Linked DNA regions of Homo sapiens: regions 1 and 2 are each linked to region 3. Evidence: promoter capture Hi-C in 16 types of primary human blood cells and fetal thymus (Javierre and others, 2016). All regions are on one chromosome and are shown on one strand. Each heading gives the region's core, a stretch centred on a gene start or on the middle of the fragment in contact. The rest is flanking DNA. Distances are from core to core; before and after follow the strand shown. Region 1 overlaps SMARCA5 (SNF2 related chromatin remodeling ATPase 5). Region 2 holds the start of SMARCA5 (SNF2 related chromatin remodeling ATPase 5). Region 3 holds the start of ZNF330 (zinc finger protein 330).

Evidence for each region. The method cuts DNA at HindIII sites, captures the fragments that hold promoters and counts their contacts. A CHiCAGO score of 5 or more calls a contact.
Region 1: a contact is called between a fragment that was not itself captured here and the fragment with the promoter of ZNF330 in region 3, in 1 of 17 cell types (naive CD4 T cells). The highest score is 5.2, in naive CD4 T cells.
Region 2: the fragment with the promoter of SMARCA5 here is called in contact with the fragment with the promoter of ZNF330 in region 3 in 3 of 17 cell types (total CD4 T cells, monocytes and naive CD4 T cells); the score reaches 7.2 in total CD4 T cells.

The regions. Positions count from the first base shown.
Region 1 is chr4:143,541,759-143,544,458 of GRCh38, forward strand. SMARCA5 (SNF2 related chromatin remodeling ATPase 5) reads left to right here. Exons shown (of 24, transcript NM_003601.4): 15 at 1,751-1,899; 16 at 2,095-2,214. Among named protein-coding and RNA genes, the nearest start is that of SMARCA5-AS1, 28 kb to the left of the region's middle. The HindIII fragment of the contact is 1,111 bases long and covers 892-2,002 here.
Region 2 is chr4:143,512,295-143,514,994 of GRCh38, forward strand. It overlaps SMARCA5 (SNF2 related chromatin remodeling ATPase 5), which reads left to right and starts at 1,408. Exons shown (of 24, transcript NM_003601.4): 1 at 1,408-1,807. The coding sequence starts at 1,631. It overlaps SMARCA5-AS1 (SMARCA5 antisense RNA 1), which reads right to left and starts at 2,543. Exons shown (of 2, transcript NR_104027.1): 1 at 2,151-2,543; 2 at 1,178-1,931. RefSeq lists enhancers at 839-888, 909-998, 1,029-1,098, 1,129-1,498, 1,789-1,848 and 1 more. The HindIII fragment of the contact is 18,533 bases long and covers 1-2,700 here.
Region 3 is chr4:141,219,493-141,222,192 of GRCh38, forward strand. ZNF330 (zinc finger protein 330) reads left to right here and starts at 1,403. Exons shown (of 10, transcript NM_014487.6): 1 at 1,403-1,616. RefSeq lists enhancers at 1,188-1,694, 1,695-2,199. The HindIII fragment of the contact is 10,650 bases long and covers 1-2,700 here.

The DNA of each region.
Region 1 (2,700 bases), core at 197-2,696, 2.3 Mb after region 3:
GTGATATAATGGCTAATGTTTTATTTTTCTTCACACATCCATGTGTTTTGAAATACACCTGCCGTGTGTTTCTTGTTCTCAGTTATTTTCATCCATGAAACACTTTTTTTTTTTTTGAGATGGAGTTTTGTTCTTGTTACTCAGGCTGGAGTGCAATGGCACGATCTCGGCTCACTGCAACCTCCGCTTCCTGGGTTCAAGCAATTCTGCTGCCTCAGCCTCCTGAGTAGCTGGATTTACAGATGCCCGCCACCACACCTGGCTAATTTTTTTGTATTTTTAGTAGAGACAGGGTTTCACTTTGTTGGCCAGGCTGGTCTTGAACTCCTGACCTCAGGCGATCCACCCACCTCAGCCTCCCAAAGTGCTGGATTACAGGTATGAGCCACCACGCCTGTCCAAAACACTTTTTTTAAAGATAAAAAAGACCTTAATTGATTCATAATTAATTTAGAAATCTTGAGGTTTTTTTACTTCATATTTACTGTGGCAATTTTTGGAGCAAACCTTCAGGCTAATAGCTTTCTTGTGCCGTTTGTAGACATGTTAGTCAAACAGCAAGCCTTAAGTGCATACCTTTGTGTTACTGTTTTTTATTTGAGGGACATAATTAAAAACGAGAGTACACAAGCACTTTACATCTGAAGGTTCCGGAACCTTCCTGCCCAACTTGGAAGTAGTTTGTATAAGCATAAGAACATTTTGGTAGCAATGGTAGCATCCAATCCAAGGAAACATACCTTGTGGATATCTCCTCACTTACAAAGTCATGGATGTTTGGCTGTATATCCTATTATGGGTCCCAAACCATGATACAAGTATTTAAAGAAGTTGTTGAAAACTTGGATCTTTTTCCACTTACTTACAAGTTGGTTGGCATATAAAAATCAAAGCTTTGTTTAGGTGTATGTGAGTGACCCTTGAGGAGGGTGAAAACAAGTCTTTCTGGGTTTTTGTTTGTTTTTTTATACCTGTATTTTTGAAAAATTACAAGGTTGTCCAAACTCCTGCCAACTGAAAATATTTATTAATTTATTAATGGTGAGTTTCTTCGATGATCCAGATACATTTTCTCACCAGGTGTGGTAGTGCATGCCTTTAGTCCTAGCTACTTGGGAAGCTGAGACAGGAGAATGGCTTGAGCAGGGAGTTGAAGGCTGCAGTGACTATGGTCCTGTCATTGCACTCCAGCCTAAGCAACAGAGCAAGACTCCATCTCAAAAAAATAAACGAATAAAATAAGTTTTTAGGAGTTTCAGTTCTTCTGGAAGTTTTCTTTAAAAAGAAACTGATGTTACATATTTCAGTTCTGTGTAAAGTTTGGCCTAGGTGAAGGATTTTTTACTTTACTTTTCTAAGGAGAAAAGCTGATTTGGGGAGTATTAGTTAATAACACCTTTCTGCTCATCAGAAACTTGTGTGTATAATGCTTCCATCTGTTGAAACTTGTAGGTTTTTGAAAATTTTTCATATGCAGCTTTCACAAAAGATTATATTTCGTTGGCACAGTATACAGCAGGTTTCATTATATAATACATAAGGTTTAGGAATGTTTTGTAGCTTACCAACTGAAAATTTGGCATTAAATTTAGTGCAAAAATCAAAATTATTAGATGTGAATAAACAGTAAACAGAAATGATTGACATTTGAGATAAAATTATAAAGCATTAAACCTTACATTTAAAGTTTCAAGTTTCCAGTAAAATAAAGTCTGTTCAGTTAACATTATACAACACAATCTTTTTTCAGGGAGGCTTGTGGATCAGAATCTGAACAAAATTGGGAAAGATGAAATGCTTCAAATGATTAGACATGGAGCAACACATGTGTTTGCTTCAAAGGAAAGTGAGATCACTGATGAAGATATCGATGGTATTTTGGAAAGAGGTGCAAAGAAGGTGAGATGTAGATTAAATAATGCTTTTAATATAGAATGTTTTAGACCAGAAACAGGAAATATTTGTTACATTGATGATAAATAATTTTATTTCCTTAAAGAGAAGCTTTTGTGTACGTGAAGTTAATTTATTTTGACTGCAGTTTTCATGCTTTCTTTGCTGTGAATCTAAGAAGCTGATTGTTTTGTTCTCTAGACTGCAGAGATGAATGAAAAGCTCTCCAAGATGGGCGAAAGTTCACTTAGAAACTTTACAATGGATACAGAGTCAAGTGTTTATAACTTCGAAGGAGAAGACTATAGAGAAAAACAAAAGGTAATTTAGAAATAGGTTTGGGTTACATGAAAGCTTTATTTTACTGGAAACTTGGAATTTTAAGTGTTACTGTAATGTCTTATAATTTTGCTTAAAACAGTAGTCATTTTTGCTTATTCACATCTGAATATTTTCATCATTATGTAAAATTTAATGCCAGTTTTTCAGTTGGTAAGCTCTGAAATATTTTTAAAGTTTTTGTAATGAAGTTTGTGGTATATGTTTACAGTGAAATATATTCTTGTATGGGATGAATAGTAATTTGGGATGGTAACCTGATTCATTTTATTTTAAACAGCAGAATTGGCTGGTAATAAAGGGAAAAATTTCTTAACTTCATAAGTAATACTTGGTAATATAGAGATAAATTGAAAAATACCCAGAGATTAGAAGAAAAAAATAATTCTACCCAGTGTTTTTCTTGTTAATATTTAGGTCTATATCTTCAGAATTTTTTGTAGGCTAATTATGTGTCTACATTTTTCT
Region 2 (2,700 bases), core at 158-2,657, 2.3 Mb after region 3:
TTAGCTTTTTGCAGTCATATATGAAGACTATGATGAACATCATTGTAGGTATTCATCTTTGCATATATCCTTAGACATTTCCTTATAGTCTAAGAACTAGCATTTCTAGTGGAGTGGGGACATTTTTCCAGATGTCCATTTAAGAATTATCATTCCATTAGTTAAAAAATTTGCAGGCTATATATTCAAAGGGGATCCCTTCTGTTTGGAATTCAACATAACCAGTTAGCTCAAACCTCAACTCTCGAAAAATGTGTCTCCTTTACTCAACAAACATTTAGAGAATACTGAATATGAGGAATAAAAAAAGATAAAAAAGACCCTGTACTGGGCAGGTAATCTACTGTAGTATGCAGATTCGTTATCAAACAGACTACAATGTATTTAAATTTTGTAGGCGATGAATGCACAAGGCCCTTAAGCTGCATTGAAGGCTGCCTAAGGCAGTATACAAAATCAGTGCTGAATATTTGTTAACACTTAAGGAGAATGTACGTTTTAATTTTCATGTTTGATGCTTGGGGAAAAGATTACATCGCACCACCTATCTTCCCCATATATTGATTATTCGTGTTTCTCACTTCCATGGTAGTGTGCACGTTATTTGCTTAACTTTGGCATATAAATTCAGAAGAAATATCATTTAACTCTGTGCCTAAGGAGGGTATTTAGAAATAACCGACGCAGCTAACATGAGAAGGCAAAAAAAAAAAAAAAGAAAAAAGAAAAAAATCACACTAACGGACTTTTTTTTTTTTTCTAACAACAAAAAACCGTGAGACTTCACTTGGGGTAACCATAACGTCGTCAAGGCTGTGGCGTCACGCCTCTAAGCGGATACGGCAGAAGTTTTGGGGCCAGACACAAGACTTCCAAGTTTGAATGGGCAGCGCAAAACCCAGACAAGTTTTCCGGTAGTGCCGCCAACCCCTGTCAGGCACAGAAGACACAGCGAGAACCGTGAGCCGTTACGAAAGCCTAAAACACTGAGCTCGCGTCCTGCCAAGCAGCAGGCGCACAAACCTACACCTCCGAGCGCTCCCTGGAGGTCCCGCCCACTCTTCTCTCCCGAGCCGGCTAGAGATCTGGAAGAGGGCGGGCCAAGGGTGAGGAGGGCAGTATGCGCATGCGCGCTCAGGACCCAGTCAGTGAGCCAATAAGGAATCTCGCGAGTGTTGAAAGTCGGTGGCGTAGGTCGTCGTCCTGGATGCTGGCGAGATAGATGTTATCTTCCAGAGGAAGAGGAGGAGGCGGCGAAGCGTTTTCCCAGCCTCAGTCTCTCTTTCGTTTTCCTTTTCCCTTCCCCCAACCCTCCGCCCTTCTCTAAATCAGCCGGCCTTCCTTGACCTCAGTGACCCGTCTGGCCCCGCCCACCCTCGTCGACGTGATTCCCGCCGTGAGGTAAGCGCCGGTGGAACCTAGAGCCCCGCGGAAGAGCAGAACGTTTGGGAGTGTGCAGCTCCTGGGCCCGGCTCAGGCCCGTCGCGGAGGCGCGGCGCAGGGGAGCGCTCGGGTGGGAGTCTCGCTCCTCCACCAGTTTATTGCGACGTAGCATCCAGGCCTAGGCCTCCCCGTCCATCCCCGCCGGACTCGGGCCTCTGGCAGCAGCGGGTGACGCAGACGGAACATCATGTCGTCCGCGGCCGAGCCTCCGCCACCCCCGCCTCCCGAGAGCGCGCCTTCCAAGCCCGCAGCCTCGATCGCCAGCGGCGGGAGCAACAGCAGCAACAAAGGCGGCCCCGAAGGCGTCGCGGCGCAGGCGGTTGCGTCTGCGGCCAGCGCTGGTCCCGCAGACGCCGAGATGGAGGTGAGGGCGACTTGCGGCATGGGGAGCGGGTGCAGCGGGGAGGAGGAGCTGGCTCCCTCGCCGGATCGTGGCGATCGGACGCAGAGCCGGGTTTCTCTCTCTGCACCAGACTCAGCTTCACACCCTGTGGATACGAAATGATGCTCTCACTCTTGCTCCCTTGTTCTTACCCTATTCGAGCTAAGCAAAATGGATTTCTGGCTCCTCACATTTAAATTATTTGTCTCTTTCGTGAATCCTGACAAATATTTGAACGCTCTCAGTGAACAGATGTTCTTGGTTACCGTGGCCCGGGGGACCCATCGTTTTTTTCCCACTAGACTCCCATAATTCCCTCTCCTACCTCTGAATGTGGTTTTTAGTTTCCACCAAACTTCGGGGAAGGGCGAGGAGATGACCCCTTAGGAGCGGGATGCACGGGCGGGGTGAAGGAGGCATTTAAAAGCAGCGCGTCCGAGGACTTGGGCCTCCTTTTCTTCTTCCCGGTCCTTGCAGGGGCGGTATCTGTTGTGGGCAGAAACAATGGCGAGAGCTGGATGGCCGAGTGCGCAGTGGGGATAAGCGGGGCGCAGCTGCTTCTGTGAAGGGAGAGAAGGCCCCTCCCAGGCACTATTCCACTGGAAGGGAAGCAACCAAGGCAGCAGCAGCTGTCTCGGATCCCCCGTCTAATTTAGGGGGGATGAATAAGTGTAGGAATGAATTAGAGAACCAGGCGCAGTTGGTTGGCTCTCAGTCCGGCACTTTTCTCTTTTTGGCCTCTGGCCTTAAGAAAAAAAAAAATTAGTACCACTCGCTGCCGAGACTTATGGGTTTGGGTTGGGCAGGGGATGCTGACAGTACTGAGGGGGCTGGAAAGATGGGGGAAGCTGCCAGGCGGGTAAATTGGATATGCT
Region 3 (2,700 bases), core at 153-2,652:
AGTGCAGCAAGCCAACACAATCCAGCTCTTGGCCATCTTCAGGAGTCCTTTAACCCAAGGTTGCACTCTTCTCCTTTGGCAGCGTTCATCCAGTGACTAAATGTCATAGGTGTATAAAGGTCCAGCCCAGTTCCCCTAACTCAAGACAACTCTGAAGGGATATCCCAGATTCAAAACGAGGCCTTCACTGAGACGTCACTGCAGGTCAACTCTTCCCTCTGCTCAATCCTGCTTCCATTTCTCCTGCAGATGTTGTTCCCCAAAGCATTCCCTAACATACTCATTATACTCTTCTCTGACTCAGAGTATGCTTCCTGGGGAAGCCAACCTAAAACAGTTGGTGTCAGGAGTGGTTCAAGTTAGGCTAAGATGGGATTTATGATTCGAATCACAGGCCATGTGACTATCAATGAGGACCCCCTCGGTGGTAGGTGTAGGACACACAGACCTCGGCACAAGGTAACAGTGCAATAGTTACAACTTTCATCAGTAATGAAACTGGGGTGGTATTCTAACGTAACTGGGGTGGTATTCTAATTTATATACGAGTAGGTAAAATGTATCAGGCATTTGAGAACTATGAGGGAAATAGTAACCTTAATGACAGTGGCATTGACTGTTATTGCTAAGTAAAATTGATTCTTTGAAAATAGCAAAAGGCTGAGATGGTTAATTGGCTATCAAAATCTAAGAGTAAATTCCAGAAGGCCTCTTTGGTCCAAATAAAGAGGCTTTTATCTCCTGCAGGGGGAGGGCAGGAAAAGCACAGGAATAGGCCTGGTACTGAATCCTAAGTGCGGCAGAGCTCCGAAAGAGATTAGGAAACCCAGCTTGGTCGGCTATGCAAAGGTGGAGGTGCTTGATCGGAAGGAGATTCTGATGCAGGGGGAGGATCATCAGGTTTCAGTTAAAAGCAGGCAGATTACACATTAGAGGTAGAGAATGTGGGATGATTTGTTCACAAAGGAATGGAATCCAGAGGGCATAACAGAAATAAGAGACAGGGGAGGCTGGTACGGAAGTTCATCAGGCAACTGAAGGCACAGTTTGCGCAGCAACCAAGAAAAGGTGGGATGTGAGGCACGCAAGATGTAGAGGTGGGGAAAGGTTTCCAACAGAATTCAACATGAATTTGCTGTTTGAGTCAATTGATCCAGTACCAAGTCTGTGAGTTCATTTTCCTCTTCCTTTTAGATTTCTCCTTTTTCTAAAAAAGTAAAACTGAGGGGGCCTTCCCCTGCTTTCCCTCCTTCTGCTTCCCTATTTTCCCTCGCATTCCCTTCCTTTTCTGCAGATCCTCTGCTTAGGAATGGGGCATTGGCCCCCGCAGGAGTGGGCGGGGAAGGGGCGGAGCGAACAGAGGTGGGCGGCTCCCGTCCTATGACGTCAGCCGTAAGGCGCTGCTGTCGTAAAAGGACGTCCGGTCCGTCTCCTAGTGTCCGGAATCGGCTGTCAGCCTCCCTGGCTGTTAGTACCTTCTTTCCCGGAGTCCTGGTCCACGAGTTGGATTTACTGCTGTCGCGGGTGGGCCTCACGCCATTCCCTGTCCCTCGGCCCCCTGAGTGAGTCCGGTCTCCCGGCGAAAGTGAGCGAGGTTTGCCCGGAGCGCGCACGAGGTAGGGTGTCCCGCGGGCGGGTGACGGTTGCGGGTCCCCGTTGCGGGTCCCCGAGCCGCCTGGCACCTCCGCCGCTTCTCCCCTGGACGCCCCTCCGCCCCACTGGGTCCTCCAGCTCCAGGCTGGACTCCTAAAGCCGCAGTGCCCCGTGCCTGTTTCCTCATTTGGTGACACACGCAGTGCATGCAAGAAGTTGGAGTGTTACCGGAAAAGGGCTTGAACCCGTATAAGGCTGAGAAGAAGATTCACTCTTTTGAGCGTGCAGAACAAACTGGAGGGAAAAAAAAATGAGATTTAACTTTATCAGAGGATTCAGAGGATATCTCTGAGGACGCAGAAAGTTAATCCGCATGATCACCTCGTGATTATTTTCTGAGGTTCTTTGGCCAGGGCAGCACGCCCTCTAGATTTTGTCATTTTACATATTGGAATGGTGCCTTAGTGGTCTGGGCGTTACGTTACCGAAATAACCACCTATTAAATCTGGCTATTTTTCAGTTGCTACCGTACTGCTTACCACCTGTTTTGTTTTTTTTTTAATTGAGCATTCAGTTCAGAAAACTTCAGTTTAGAAAAATCTTGTATTTCAACTAAATGATGAAAATTAAACATACTCTTAAACGTAAATTTGAACCCCGTTAAAATTACATGCTCACTGCGTGTAGAGGGAAGAGCATTTGTTAAAGTCAGAGCAACTAATACCTTAAATATCTTCAGAATGTTTTGACTTTGTAGTTAATAAATAGTGTTATTTGTTGACTGTTAGATGTTTTGTTTACATATTACATAGGAAAAATTAAACTTGTTATACTTAAGGTGTTGGCAGCGTCAGGTCATCTGAATATATAGCTCAAAAAAGTGATATAAACTGGCTAAATAATGCTCTTATTAATGATTTTTTTGTTTTTGCTAATGATACATGATTCATTTGTTTTAATGAGGTGCAGAATACTTTATCATTGGAGAAACTTTTTTCTTAGTGGGAAAAGAAGACTAGTTTGTCTTTTAGGGTAAATTTTTTTGACGTTTACATTTTTAGAATCGTTAGTGCCAATAAATGCGTTAAGGATCACCCGCTTCATTT